Regions from separate parts of the Homo sapiens genome. Here region 2 is linked to region 1. The links are contacts of gene promoters, found by promoter capture Hi-C in human tissues and cell types (Jung and others, 2019). All regions are on one chromosome and are shown on one strand. The core of a region is centred on a gene start or on the middle of the fragment in contact, and the rest is flanking DNA. Distances in the headings are between cores, read along the strand shown.

Evidence for each region. The method cuts DNA at HindIII sites, captures the fragments that hold promoters and counts their contacts. A contact is called where the count stands out against the background at its distance.
Region 2: a fragment that was not itself captured here is called in contact with the fragment with the promoter of TMEM67 in region 1 in 1 of the 25 tissues and cell types used here (bladder).

Annotation. Positions count from the first base shown.
Region 1 is chr8:93,749,825-93,757,013 of GRCh38, reverse strand. It overlaps TMEM67 (transmembrane protein 67), which reads right to left and starts at 2,120. Exons shown (of 28, transcript NM_153704.6): 1 at 1,877-2,120; 2 at 1,148-1,236. The coding sequence starts at 2,099. The HindIII fragment of the contact is 11,912 bases long and covers 1-7,189 here.
Region 2 is chr8:94,228,215-94,234,666 of GRCh38, reverse strand. No RefSeq gene overlaps it. Among named protein-coding and RNA genes, the nearest start is that of CDH17, 23 kb to the right of the region's middle. RefSeq lists enhancers at 1-182, 1-191, 233-282, 192-771. The HindIII fragment of the contact is 4,638 bases long and covers 852-5,489 here.

The DNA.
Region 1 (7,189 bases), core at 871-3,370:
CAACCTCTGCCTCCTGAGTTCAAGCGATTCTCTTGCCTCAGCCTCCCAAGCAGCTGGGACTACAGGCACGCGCCACCACAGCCAGCTCATTTTTGTATTTTTAGTAGAGATGGGGTTTCACCATATTGGCCAGGCTGGTCTCAAACTCCTGAGCTCATGATCCACCAGGCTCAGCCTCCCAAACTGCTGGGATTACAGGCATGAGCCACTGTGCCTGGCCTATACAGGACAATTTAAAAATTACAATAACTTAAACAATGTCACTGAAAAAGAAATCTGCTGCGAGACCACTTTTTATTAGCAGCTTTTTATCATGGGTAATTCAGCTAGGATCAATATTTGCAAAGATATAAAATAAATGGTAATCTATTATAATCTATTATAAAGATATAAAATAAATGGTAATATAAAAAGTGGTAATCAGACTTACAAGTAATACAGATAGCTATAAATTGGGACAATTGATAACTTCACATTAAATTCCCAGAATTAATATTTTTTATATGACAATGAGAAGAAACATTACTGTAAATGTCACAACTGTTACACAGACTTTTAATTATCCAACATGATTGAAAAATATATTTATGTTGAGAATTATATATAGTAACTATTTACTAATTTTTTTTAAATTACGATACAATGAAATTACTAACAAAACAGAAACAGACATTATTTAATCTATTAATGCAATTGGTATTTCATGAAATAATTACACCTTAGATATCATTATGAACATCAATAATCATATAAACTGTTGACATGGTAGGTCTAAGACAACTCCACTTGCATCAGTCAAAAGAATATACACATCCCAAATTGCACACATCCCAGACTGCTCTATATATGCCTTATTCATCTAATTTTCTTCATAACCGAGTTATTCTACGAGTAAAAACAAAAACTTAAATTTTTACAGCTTTGTGGTTTTTGGATTTCAGATTTTAAAAGAAATACATTTCTGTTTTCTCCAAGTTTGCATGAAATTTCGCTGATCTCCCAAAACTTACTCTAGTAAAAATAAAATTAGCATAGTAATTTTAAAGTCTGTGGGGAAACATTAAACATTAAATTATATTTTGAAAAATAAAGATATTTAACTTACTACTTTTTACAGGTAAGTTATTTTAAAATAAATTATGCGCACCATGTTTTCTGGGCACTTTTTACAAATAATAGCAGGTCCTCCATTATTAGAGATCATCTGAAATCCTGGTAGACATACACATGAAGTTCCTAAAAAAAAAAAAAAAAAAAAAAAAGCCAATTTTATCCTTGATAAATAAAAATAAAGTTCCCAGATAGTGAAACTTTTAATAAGTCTGAAGATCTTGAGAAGCAGTATAGTGATTAACAGCAGGATTCTGGAGGCAGTACTGCCTGGGTTCAAATCCAGAAATACACTTCTTGAGTTCCAATCGTAGTAATCCTACTCAGTTGCATGACCTTGAACAAGTTACTAAACTCTCTGCCTTGGCTTCCTCTACAATAAAATGGAGAAAAAAAATTGGTACCTACCTCACAGGGTTAGTATGAGTACAAAATTAGTTATTATACGTAGAGGTCTTACACTGGCACACAGCTGGTATTATGCTGCTACCATTTTAAGTGCAAGTATAACTAAACTATTAAACTACTTAACTGCTGCTGGAAATTTTACATTTCTACGTCACTAAACAATATACATGTATTCGGGCCAGGCGCGGTGGCTCACGCCTGTAATCCCAGCACTTTGGGAGGCGGAGGCGGGTGGATCACCTGAGGTCAGAAGTTCGAGACTAGCCTGATCAACATGGTGAAACTCCATTTACGGGGACTAGGGGCCGACCAAGGCGGGAGTGTTACTTTTGCCAGGGCCCACCGCAAACCGTCTTACCTCGGGCATCTTGCCTCTGGTTAGCTCCACAAGGAACACACGAGAGGGCGGAGATATCAAAGTACTGGTTGTTGTCGCACTTCTCCGGCTGCTGGAAAGGGAAAGAGAAGGTCTGGGCCTGTAAGAAGCGAGGGAGGAACAACAGAAGGAACGCGGTCACGGCCCGGGCGGATAAGAGGGACCAAACCGCCATTGCCACCCCAGCCCCACCGCGCGTCGCCATGGTACCGACGCTGGAAGCCTCACAGCCTCCAGCCCCCCATCAGCCTCTGCGGCGGCTTCGCTGAGCTGATTGGACAACCCAAGTCCGGGTACCGGAAGTCACTGCTCGTGTTGCTTGGTTGCTAGGTTACCAACCCTGCGCGAAGTTGGCAGGTCCAGTAAAGAATGGGTTAGAGACCGGTTAACCCTGGAGCCCAGCGATATTTTCAAACGTGTATAGAGTTCCTCTACTTACGATAGGGCTGCCCCCTCCCCGCAATAAACCCATCGTAAGTTGAAAATATCATAATTTGTCGAGTTATAGTTACATCAGAATTTATTCAGACTAGGTAATTTTCACGTTAAAGGAAACATGACTTGTAGTTTAACAATTTGATGTCAAAAAACCCCACTGACTTAAAACCCAGTGAAGGATTACTATAGCTCAAAGACTGAAAAAATAAAAAAACTTTCCTGCCAGGTTTGAGCATAGGAAATCATGTATGCGAGACAAAGTACGAAACGGAAGAAACCATGTTTGCTCATTCTGTTGCCAGCGAAATTTCACAAAGCCCCTGACTCAGTGACTGAACGCAGTCCTCCAGAAGAATGCCCTGAAGACAATAAGTAGGATAGAGCACAAGTTTTCACATCTGTTGCTTGAATCACTTCATTTTTTAAAAAGATACAGTCAGCGATCCTAGCTCTTGCCTCTTCCTGTACGTAAGATAACGTGTGACAGGATTAATGATTATGCCTCTGTAATCTATAACCAGATGTAGTCTCCAAACAAAACTTTGATGAGATTTTGCTCCAACGTAACTTCTGAGCACGTTTAATGTAACTTTTGAGCACATGCAGAACTCCATCCCTTGATGTAGAAACTGGGGGCAGAACAGCTGCTTTGGACCAGTATAACATAAACTCTTTGAAAGACTCTCCAGGGTTGCATTCCTCAGTAAGACTCCGAATAAAACTAACTTTGAGTCTTTAAAAGCCTGATTTTTTTCTTTAGTTGACATGTATATAAAATGAGATCACCTTTACACCTTTTGTGAATAAAGGAATCTAAGCCTGGTGCTGTGGCTCACACCTCTAATCCTAACATTTTGGGAGGCCACAGTGGAAGGATTGTCTGAGCCCAGGAATTCAAGACCAGCCTGGGCAACATAGTGAGACTCCACCTCTACAAATAAAATTTATTTTAATTAGCTGGGTGGGTGGCACATGCCTATGGTCCCGGTTGCTTGGAAGGCTGAGGCGGGAGAACCACTTAAGCCCAGGAGGTCAATGAGCCCAAAGGCTGCAATAAGCTATGATCGTGCCACTGCACTCCAGCCTGGATGTCAGAGACCCTATATAAAAAAAAAAAAAAATCCTGGACAAAAATATGGAAACGTTTAGAGTTAGAGACCACTTGCGAGGCTAAGGTAGAAATCTAGAGTCTAAATTGGAGCCATGGAGGAAGGGAGAGGCAGAAGAGGATGAATAAAGGAGCTATTCAGGAAGAAGAATTATAAGAATTTTATTATTTGGACATAGGAAGTAAACAAACAGAATCAAGGATAACTTCCAGGTTTCTGATTTGGGTGGCTGGGTAGACGGTTGTGATATTAAAGGAAGATACCTGTGGTAGATAGCTTCTAAGCGAAAACTTATTGGATAAAGAAAATTTTAAGGTAGAAATGAAAGTTATAGGAATATTTAACATGGTGGGAGCTAGAGGTATGGATAATAATAGAAATAATAGGTATTAATAGCTTGTTTTTGTTATCAAGCAAATGAGCTCTCTATCCAATGCATGCACAGAAGCCAATACTATGTGGCACAAGCTTTTGAGGAAAAAAAGTCTTTATTTGCACAACTGGTCAGCAAGGAGATAGGAGTGCATTCAAATCTGTTTCCCTGATTTAGAGTCTGGGGTAAACTTATGGGCTTGGAAAGCCAAGGGAAGAATTTAGGAATGTGTCTTGGCAGGCAGAATGGAGGACTTGAAATTTGACCATTTAGAAAAAGGTACGTAGAGGCCGATTTTAGGCCTGATCCTCCAGGCAAATGGACCCAACACTTTTGAAAGAGTTCCAAGTTCAGGTTCCAGTCATGTCCCGGTCTTGGTTCCAAGGAAAGGATTCACTGGTTTTGGGTGTTGTTAGAGGTCCAGGCTTTTTCTATTGCACATGACTGGGCTACATGACTTTCAGTTTTTGGCTCTGTTACATCTAAAAGGTAACACGACATTTTGTTATCAACAGAGTAGGCTCAGTTTGGGCTAGTCCCATGGAGACACTTTTAATGTGTCCGGCATTGCAATATCTCATTTGATCCTAAATTGGGACTGTTATCATCACCTTTAATTTACAGATGAAATAACCAAGGCTTAGAAAGTATAAGTGACTTTCTAAGGTCACACTTAATTCATGGTTCTAACCCTGGTAATTTGACACCAGAGCCCATACTTTTCTTCGGGTTTTTGTTGTTGTTGTTGTTGTTTTAAACTTTAATTTAGGTTCAGAGGTACATGTGCAGGTTTGTTATATAGGTAAATTGAGTGTCTCGGGGGTTTGGGGATCAGATTATTTCCTTACCCATGTGATAAGCATAGAACCCAATAGGTAGTTTTTTGATCCATACTCTCCTTTCACCCTCCACCCTCAAGTAGTACCCAGTATCTATTGTTCCCTTCTTTGTGTCCACCTGTACACAATGTTAGCTCCAACTAATAAGTGAGAACACACAGTATTTTATTTCTTTCCTGTGTTAGTTTGAGATAGGAGGTTGGCAGGACTGATTTCACAGGATAAGATCATAAAGACCTGGCTGATAAAACAGGATAGGTAAAGAAGAGGACTGAAACCTGCTAAAACCAAGATGGTGACCAAAGTGACCTCTGGCCATCCTCACTGCTCATTATATGCTAATTACAATGGATTAACATGCTAAAAGACACTCCCACCAGCACCTTGACAGTTTGCCCCTTGCCATGCCCACTTAGAGAAGTTACCCTACATGGTCTAACAAGGGAGGACGCTCCGTTCCAGGAATTCCCCACCTTTTTCCTGGAAAACTCATGAATAATCCACCCCTTGTTTAGTATATGATCAAGGAATAACCATAAATATACTCAGTCTAGCAGTCCTTGCCATTGCTCTGCCTATGAAGTAGCCACTCTTTATTCCTTTACTTTCTTAACAAACTTGCTTTCACTTTATTCTGTCAGATTGCTCTTGAATTCCTTCCTGCATGAAGCTGAGAACCCACATGGCCACTCAGGCTGAACCCTGATTTTGAGGTTTTCTCTGTGACAAGTTTGCTTTGGATAATGCAGAGCCCACACTCTTAAGCCCTGCTTTTTATTGTTGCCTTTGAATCTCTGGATGTGCTTTTCTGGGCAGGAATAAAGAAAAGCTAAAGGCAAGTAAGTTCAAGATGAGATTAATGAATTAAAATATTACAAAGAAGGTGAAAAACAGAAGTGGAGGTTGTGGTGAGAAAGGGGAATTAGTGAGGTTCAGATCTTACATCTGGGGCACTTTGTGTGGTGAACCCTGTGTTCATTCCCAATCTCCAGACACTTAGTGCCCTTTTGATTTGTTAATCTTTTGTGTGTAACTTGTTTTTTACTTTCTTGAAGTCTTCAGGATGTTCCTCTCTGTGCCCCACCTTCTCATTTTTCTTAATTTTACAGTGATGTGTCTGGGCATGTTTCATTGTCATCTTTTGTGTGGAACACCTGTTGTAACTTTGCAATTCAGCAAAGAAACTCATGTCCTTTAACACTGGGAAATGATCTCTTCTACTAATTATTCCTTTGAAGACTTTCTCTCCGTTTTTTTTTTCTTCTGGACACCCTATTTTTCAGATACTAGACTTCCTGGACTGTTCCTCTAATTTTCTCAGATTATGTTTTCATTTTTCTTTTCTTTTTTCTTTTTTTTTTTTTTTGAGACGGAGTCTCGCTCTGTCGCCCAGGCTGGAGTACAGTGGCGGGAGGCGGGATCTCCGCTCACTGCAAGCTCCGCCTCCCGGGTTCACGCCATTATCCTGCTTCAGCCTCCGGAGTAGCTGGGACTACAGGAGCCCGCCACCTCGCCCGGCTAATTTTTTGTGTTTTTAGTAGAGACGGGGTTTCACCGTATTAGCCAGGATGGTGTCAATCTTCTGACTTCGTGATCTGCCCGCCTCGGCCTCCCAAAGTGCTAGGATTACAGGCGTGAGCCACCGCGCCCGGCGTGTGTGTGTGTGTGTGTGTGTGTGTGTGTGTGTCGGAGTTTTTTTGCTCTTGTTGCCCAGGCTGGAGTGCAATGGCACGATCTCTGCTCACTGCAACCTCCACCTCCTGGGTTCAAGTGATTCTCCTGCCTCAGCCTCCCGAGTAGCTGGGATTACAGGCATGTGCCACCACGCAGGGCTAATTTTGTTATTTTTAGTGGAGTCGGAGTTTCTCCATGTTGGTCAGGCTGGTCTCAAACTCCCGACCTCTGGTGATCCACCCATCTCGGCCTACCAAAGTGCAAGGATTACAAGCGTGAGCCACCGCGCCCAGGCTTCATTTTTCATTTTGTTTTGTTTGGTTCTACTTTCTGGAAGATTTTCCTGCGCGTATCTGTCAAACATTGAATTGAACTTTTCATTTCTTCTATTATAAATTTAATTTCTAAGAGCTCTCTTTTGTTTTCTGGCTATAGCTTAATTATGGCATTCTTGAATTCTTCCATGCTGCAATATCTTATTTCCTAGAATACATTACTAGTGGTGTTTTAAAGTTTCCCTCTGTTGCATAATCTGTTTCTTCAAAGTTATGTTTTGTATAAAAGGCTTTCCTCCTAAATCTTGGGACCTTTTGCCATTTACATACATACAAAAGTGGGTGGCCAGGCGCGGTGGCTCACGCCTGTAATCCAGCACTTTGGCAGGCCAAAGCAGGTGGATCACCTGAGGTCAGGAGTTCGAGACCAGCCTGACCTAAACGGTGAAACCCCGTCTCTACTAAAAATACAAAAATTAGCTGGGCGTGGTGGCCATGCCTGTAATCCCAGCTTCTCAGGAGGCTGAGGCAGGAGAATTGCTGGAACCCAGGAGGTGGAGGTTGCAGTGATCCCAGACTACGACATT
Region 2 (6,452 bases), core at 1,921-4,420, 480 kb before region 1:
AGACGGCAGTGAATGAAGGTCACGGCCTCCACAGAGATGGTGCGAGATGGTGTGAGGCAGGGCAGCATCTCTGAGTCACCGCGGGAGACGCCCACAGTCTTGCCCCGGAACCCAGGGACTCGGCCCGCGCTGTCTCCACACTGCCCTCCCATAAAACACGGGATTCATTGTCATAAAAGCTCCTCACCCACAGGCGGCTGCACACTGGCTTTGCCCTCAGCGCGAGGAAAAGGCGCTTCACTTTCTACCAATTCTCATCTGACCTGCCCGAGTCCTCAGGGATGGGCTCCCCCGCGCTGGGAGGGGAAATTCTCTGCCAGGGATGCAGGGAGAGGGAGGCGCAGCTCGGGATTCCTCCAGACTCTGAAGCGCCAGAGGGCGGATGGGGGAGCTGTGCGAAATACTCAAGACAAAACCCGAGCAGATGGGGAAGAAATGGGCTTAACTGTCCGCTTTCCCACCTGCGGGCGACCTGGGGCGGTATAATGAAGCCTATTCTCTTGGAATTTGAAAGAGAAATCAAGCGGCAGTTGTTTTTGTCTTTTCTCCTCAAGAAACATAATTTTTTATTTTATTTTATTTTTATTTTTTTGGACGCAGAGTCTTGCTCTGTCGCCCAGGCTGGAGTGCAATGGCGCGATCTCGGCTCACTATATCCTTCGCCTCCCGGGTTCAAGCAGTTCTCCTGCCTCAGCATCCCAAATAGCCATCCCAAATAGGGATGACAGACATGTGCCATCACGCCTGTCCAATTTTTAAAAATTTTTTTATTTTTATTTATTTATTTATTTTAGTAGAGACGGGGTTTCACCATGTTGGTCAGGCTGGTCTCGAACTCCTGACCTCAGGTGATCCACCCGCCTCAGCCTCCCAAAGTGTTGGGATTACAGGCGTGAGCCACCTCGCCCGGCCACAGTTTTTTTAGGGGGGAAATTCCCAGGATACCCACATGACTTTGACTCTGTGTCCGCAGAGAGGGGTGGAAGCAGGAGCTGTGGGGCGGGCTCTTCTCGGTTCAGATGCTCCCTGTGACCCCGAGTGTGTCGTGGTTTTCCCTACTGTACCACGTGAGGGGCAGCAAACACTTGTGTGTGTGTGTATGTGTGTATGAGTGTGTGTGTATGTTTGTATGAGTGTGTGTGTATGAGTGTTTGTATGTATGTGTGTGTGCGAGTGTGTGGTGTGTGTGGAAGTGTGTGGTGAGTGTATGTGTGTGGTGTGTGTATGTTAGGGTGTGTGTGTGTACGTGTGTGTGAGCGTGTGTGTGTGTGTGGCTTCTCTGCGCTTTGGAGCAGAGCACAAACTCTGGGGAGGAGGAATTGGGTAACTGCAGTAAGTCATGGGACCCCAGGCTGCTTCTCAGCTCCTGATGGAGGACCAGTGCCGCCAGGTGGGGGAGGACGTTGTGAGCACAGGAGCTGACACACTGGCTTCTGCTGAAAACAGTGGAGGGGAAATTAAGGAAGCCAATAGGAGTGCTCATTGGAGTGAAAAGTCTCAGGCGGCTGATTGGGATGGGAGAATCTGGATCTGAGGATTTGGGATCACTTTATTCACGCTTCAAATAAGAATTTGGAAGTCTCCACATTCATGTACAACATTTATTTTTCTTTGTTGACAATTTCTTCCTTTATTTTTCCTGTTATTCCCTCCCCCGCCCCTCCGCGCTATTCACTAGTGCAGTGAGGGCCTGGGAGTTTGGAGTTCCGGGAAAAAACATTCAGAACTCTGACCAGCTAATTAGATCTACTCAGAGAGCTTGAGTCAGGCACACCTGGTTCCACCACTTCCCGGGTGAGTTATCCTGGGGAGGTTACTTAACCTCTCCAATCCTTGGATTTCTCACTTATAAAATGAGGGTGATAAATCTCTCCCTGTCATGGTGGGTATGAGGATTGGATGCAAGGGTCTGCTGCAGGTGTGTTTCTAGCCCTCCAGCCTGACAGTGTCACCCTTTTCTTTAATATCCCAACAGACTCACCCAAGGCCCATTCCACATGCTCTGGCTTGTCCAATCTCCCCTCCCTCACTGCTCTGGGAATTCTGTGGGGGATTTGCTTTCCTTCCTGATAACCTCCCACCCTGGTTTCCTGCCTCTTTGGAGCTGTGAAGCCCCCTCTGCATCTTTCCTGCCACGACTTCCCTTCTGTATTCCCTCTTCTTCCCCTTCCACTATGTACTAGGAAAGGCATCATTCACCAGGGTTGTGTGTTTATGGAAGATTTGGGCCTATTTGGGGTGGTTTAAGGGGGTTTACAGCCCAGATCAGATAACAACTTAAAACTGAGTGCTAGACATTACCCTCTTATGTCTCTCCACCTTCTCACTGGCCATTTAGCTAATTCGACATAACCATCCTCAAATCATCCCCAAACTCAGTTATCACAATCCTGTGTATTAGCAATTTAGGATCAGCTGGGTGGCTCTTCCAGCTTCTGCTGGATTTTCATATGGGTCTTCAATGAACTGTGGGTCCATTTGCTAATCTTGCTGGGACCCTCTCACATGTCTGGAGGCTTGGCTGGGACACTTGGGCTCTGGTTCATGTGGTCTGTCAACTTGAAGCGGATGAGCCTTAGGCTTGTTTGTGGACATGGTGAGTGAGTGTGATGCAAGATTTCTGAGACCTGGGCTTGAACTGGGACTCCACTGCATTCTGCTGGTCAAAGCAAGTCACAGGGTCAGCCCATATTCAAGGAAAGGGGAAATAGACACCATGTTTGAATGGGAGAAGCTCCAAAGCCGTATTGCAAAGGACATGGCCACAGAAGTAGTGAAGTATTGTATCCACTTTTTGCAACCTTCCATGCCGTCTTCCCCGTCAGGGTCTCACCTATTGTCCTGTTGCTGGATCTTCAGTGTCTCCACCTGGACTAGAGCTCTTTCCCAATATTATCTTCTGCCTATTCTATGGGCCCCGACTCTTCTTTCTTTTTGAAGAAGTCTCCAAATTATTGTATAATATTTATTTTCCTTTGTTGACAATTTTTTTTCTTTCCAATCATGTTCACAACTGAAAAATATCCTAAGTGTGTTTGAACGAAGTAAACCAGTGGTTCTCAACACGCTGGGCACAAGAGTGATCTGCAAAGTTTAAAAAATTTACTGATATCTGGGTTCCACACCCAGGTCTGGGGTAGGTTTTAGATATTGCTATTGCTTAGAAGGTCCCCAGGTTGTTCTAAAGTGTAGCTAGGGTTGAAAACTACTGGAATACATTAAAACACCATGTACCTCTGAGATGAATTTCTCACCTAAAATATGGACATCTACAAGCTGTTTTTATTTTTTGTTTTTCTTTACACGAACAGTTTCCTTTTTCCTATTCCATTGATAAAGCATCCAGTGCATTTCAGGTGCTCACTACATATAAGCTATCATCATTGTTACTCCTGCTATCATAGGCAGTATAATGTTGTGGTGAAGAAGGATTCTGAAGATGGGTCACCTCCCCTCTCTCTGCCTCAGTTCCCTCATCTGAAAATGAGGATAATTAAAATTCCTTCTTCATAAATAGCTACCTACATCATAGGATTGTTGTGAGGGTGAAATGTCTACATGGTTATACTGAGATGCACAGTAAGTGTTCCGTAAGCAGTGGATAGCGTGTCATTCCTGTTTTATTCATTCAGCATCCCATGGTTTACTAAGCTTATCCTCAGTTTGCTTTACTCTTTGGTCCAGTTTCCAAGCAAATGTGATGACAATGGGTAGAGAGGTGGTGCTGCCTTTATTCTGGGCTGGGGCATGCTAGTGTTGGAAGAATGCAAAAGAGACACTTCCACTGCTTGGGGGAACCCTTAGCTCTGCCAACTGTAGATTATTAAGAACATTAAGAAAATTCTGTGGCAAACTTGTGTCTCCCCTTTCTTTTCCAAGTTGAGTTTTCTTCAGCCCAACATTCGTTTTGTGTGCCTCACACTTGTGCAAGTGCTTGAGTAGTGTGTGACGGGCATACTTAGCTCAGTGCAGATGTCTTGGAAATAGTAGATGTGGGCAAAGATGTGAAAATCTGCTAACAGGAGCCTAGGCCAGGTCTGAGTGCCAGCCCGTGGGGGAAGCCAGCAGCACACTGGGTAGGGGCAGGGGGACAGAGGACATCTTGGAATTACAGGGAGTCTGAGTCAGCAGGACCCTTTGACATTTAAATACACATACAAGGAAACCGAATCTAGAAGAGTTAAGCACATTCGAAGTCAGGCAGCTGGTGATTGGTAGAGCTCTGACTAGGGAAATCGTGGAAATTGCAGCTGTTATTCTTTGCATCCTGTGTCAGGAGTTGTGTTAGGTCTTTTTTGTTTGTGATAAGGTCTCACTCTGGCACCCACGCTGGAGTGCAATGGTGTGATCATGGCTCACTGCAGCCTCAGCCTCCTGGGCTCAGGTGATCCTCCCACCTCAGCCTCCCAAGTAGCCAGGACTGCAGGTGCATGCCACCACGCCTGTCTTACATTTTTTTGTATTTTTTATAGAGATGGAGTTTGACCATGTTGCCCAGGCTGGTCTTGAACTCCTGGACTCAAGTGATCTACCTGACTTGGCCTCCCAGTGTGCTGGTATTACAGGCATGAGCCACCTTGCCTGGCCGTCTTTAGTATTTTAGTAACATCTTACTAAACTCAAGAAGTAGATATTACTGGCTCCATTTTGTAGTTGAGAAAACTGAGGCTTAAAGATGTTATGACAGGCCGGGCGCAGTGGCTCATGCCTGTAATCCGAGCACTTTGGGAGGCTGAGGCAGGTGGTTCACCTGAGGTCAGGAGTTCGAGACCAGCCTGGCCAACATGGTGAAATCCTGTCTCTACTAAAAATACAAAAATTGTTCTGGCGTGGTGGCAGGTGCCTGTAATCCCAGCTACTCGGGAGGCTGAGGCAGGAGAATCTCCTGAACCCAGGAGGCGGAGGTTTCAGTGAGCTGAGATTGTGCCGTTGCACTCCAGCCTGGGGGACAAGAGTGAGACTTCATCTCAAAAAAAAAAAAAGTTATGATGTCACAGCAACCATGTGAAGAGTCAGGTCACAGTATTGCCTATAACACTGTGAGGACTGTTTAAGGCATTGGAATGACATCTTTTAAAACCCTATACAATTTCTTTTCATCTTGAAACAGATTGCTCACCTACCTACAGACCCTGAATGAGATTACCTCCATGGTATGACTTCAGGAAGACCCCATGTTAAAAAAAAATCTCTCCCCAAAAGTGAAAACCAGAAAACCCAAATCTCACTTCAGTTTCCTTTCATCTCATTCACTGAGATGTGAAAATGAATTAGTACTTAATTTAAGGTCTTAATTTCTGATAAAATAGTAACAGTCTTGAAAGAAACTAAACCTTAATGTGACCTAAAAGAAGCAACACGGTGTCAGGGAAGGAGTACCCACATCCCTTGTGAGTATGTGATCTCATATTTTCAGTAGCCTCCTCGGCCCAGTAAAAGCCATGTATGTGGAAAATTATAGAGAAATGGCACAGATAAGATCTTATTTAGTGGGAAAATATTTAAATTATAAAAATATTTGGAAAACATTCATTTTTTTTTAAATAAATGGGGTCTTTCTCTGTTGCCCAGGCTGGAGTACAGTGGCACAATCCTAGCTTACTGCAGCCTCAAACTCCTGGGCTCCAGCAATCTTCCCACCTCAGCCTCCCAAGTAGCTGGGACTACAGGCGTGCACCACCGTGCCCAGCTTTTAAAAAAAATTTTTAGTAGAGATGGGGTCTTGCTTTGTTGCCCAGGCTGGACTACAGGTGCACACCACTGTGCCCAGCTATTTTTTTTTTTTTAAATTTTTAGTAGAGACGGGTCTCGCCTTGTTGCCCAGGCTGGACTTGAACTCCTTGCTTCAAGCAATTCTCCTACCTCAGCCTCCCAAAGCGCTGCGATTACAGGCGTGAGCCACTATGCCTGGCCAGAAGACATACAATTTTATTATAGTCTTTATTATAAACCAATGGATGTGATACTATTACGCAAAATAAGATGGAGGAATTAAAAAAATGATAAATCTCAACAGACAGCAGGCCTGACAATGCCTCATAAGCACAAAAACATTATACAATCAGAATGCCATATAATAGAGTGGTTACGTTTTTAGACTTGGGAATCAGACTTCCTGGCTTCAAATCCTGGTGGTACCAATTCACTAGCTGAGTTACTTTGTGGAAGTTTACTTATGCTCCTTAGGTCAGAGTTTCCTCACTAGAAAATAGTAATAATAGTAAGTACATCATGGCTAATGCTTTCAGATCGGAATGAGTTAATGTTATCTTTTTCCTGGTGCAGGACCCTCTGTACAGGAATCTTGTCATGGTTATCACCTTATTGCTAGCAATGTGGTTTTTGAATTAAAGCAACCATTTTCCTAGTTTCTGATCATTATCTTTGTACTAAACAGCCTGGGATTACCCCTCTGCAACTATAATTTAGGACATGCACATAGCTGCCTTGAC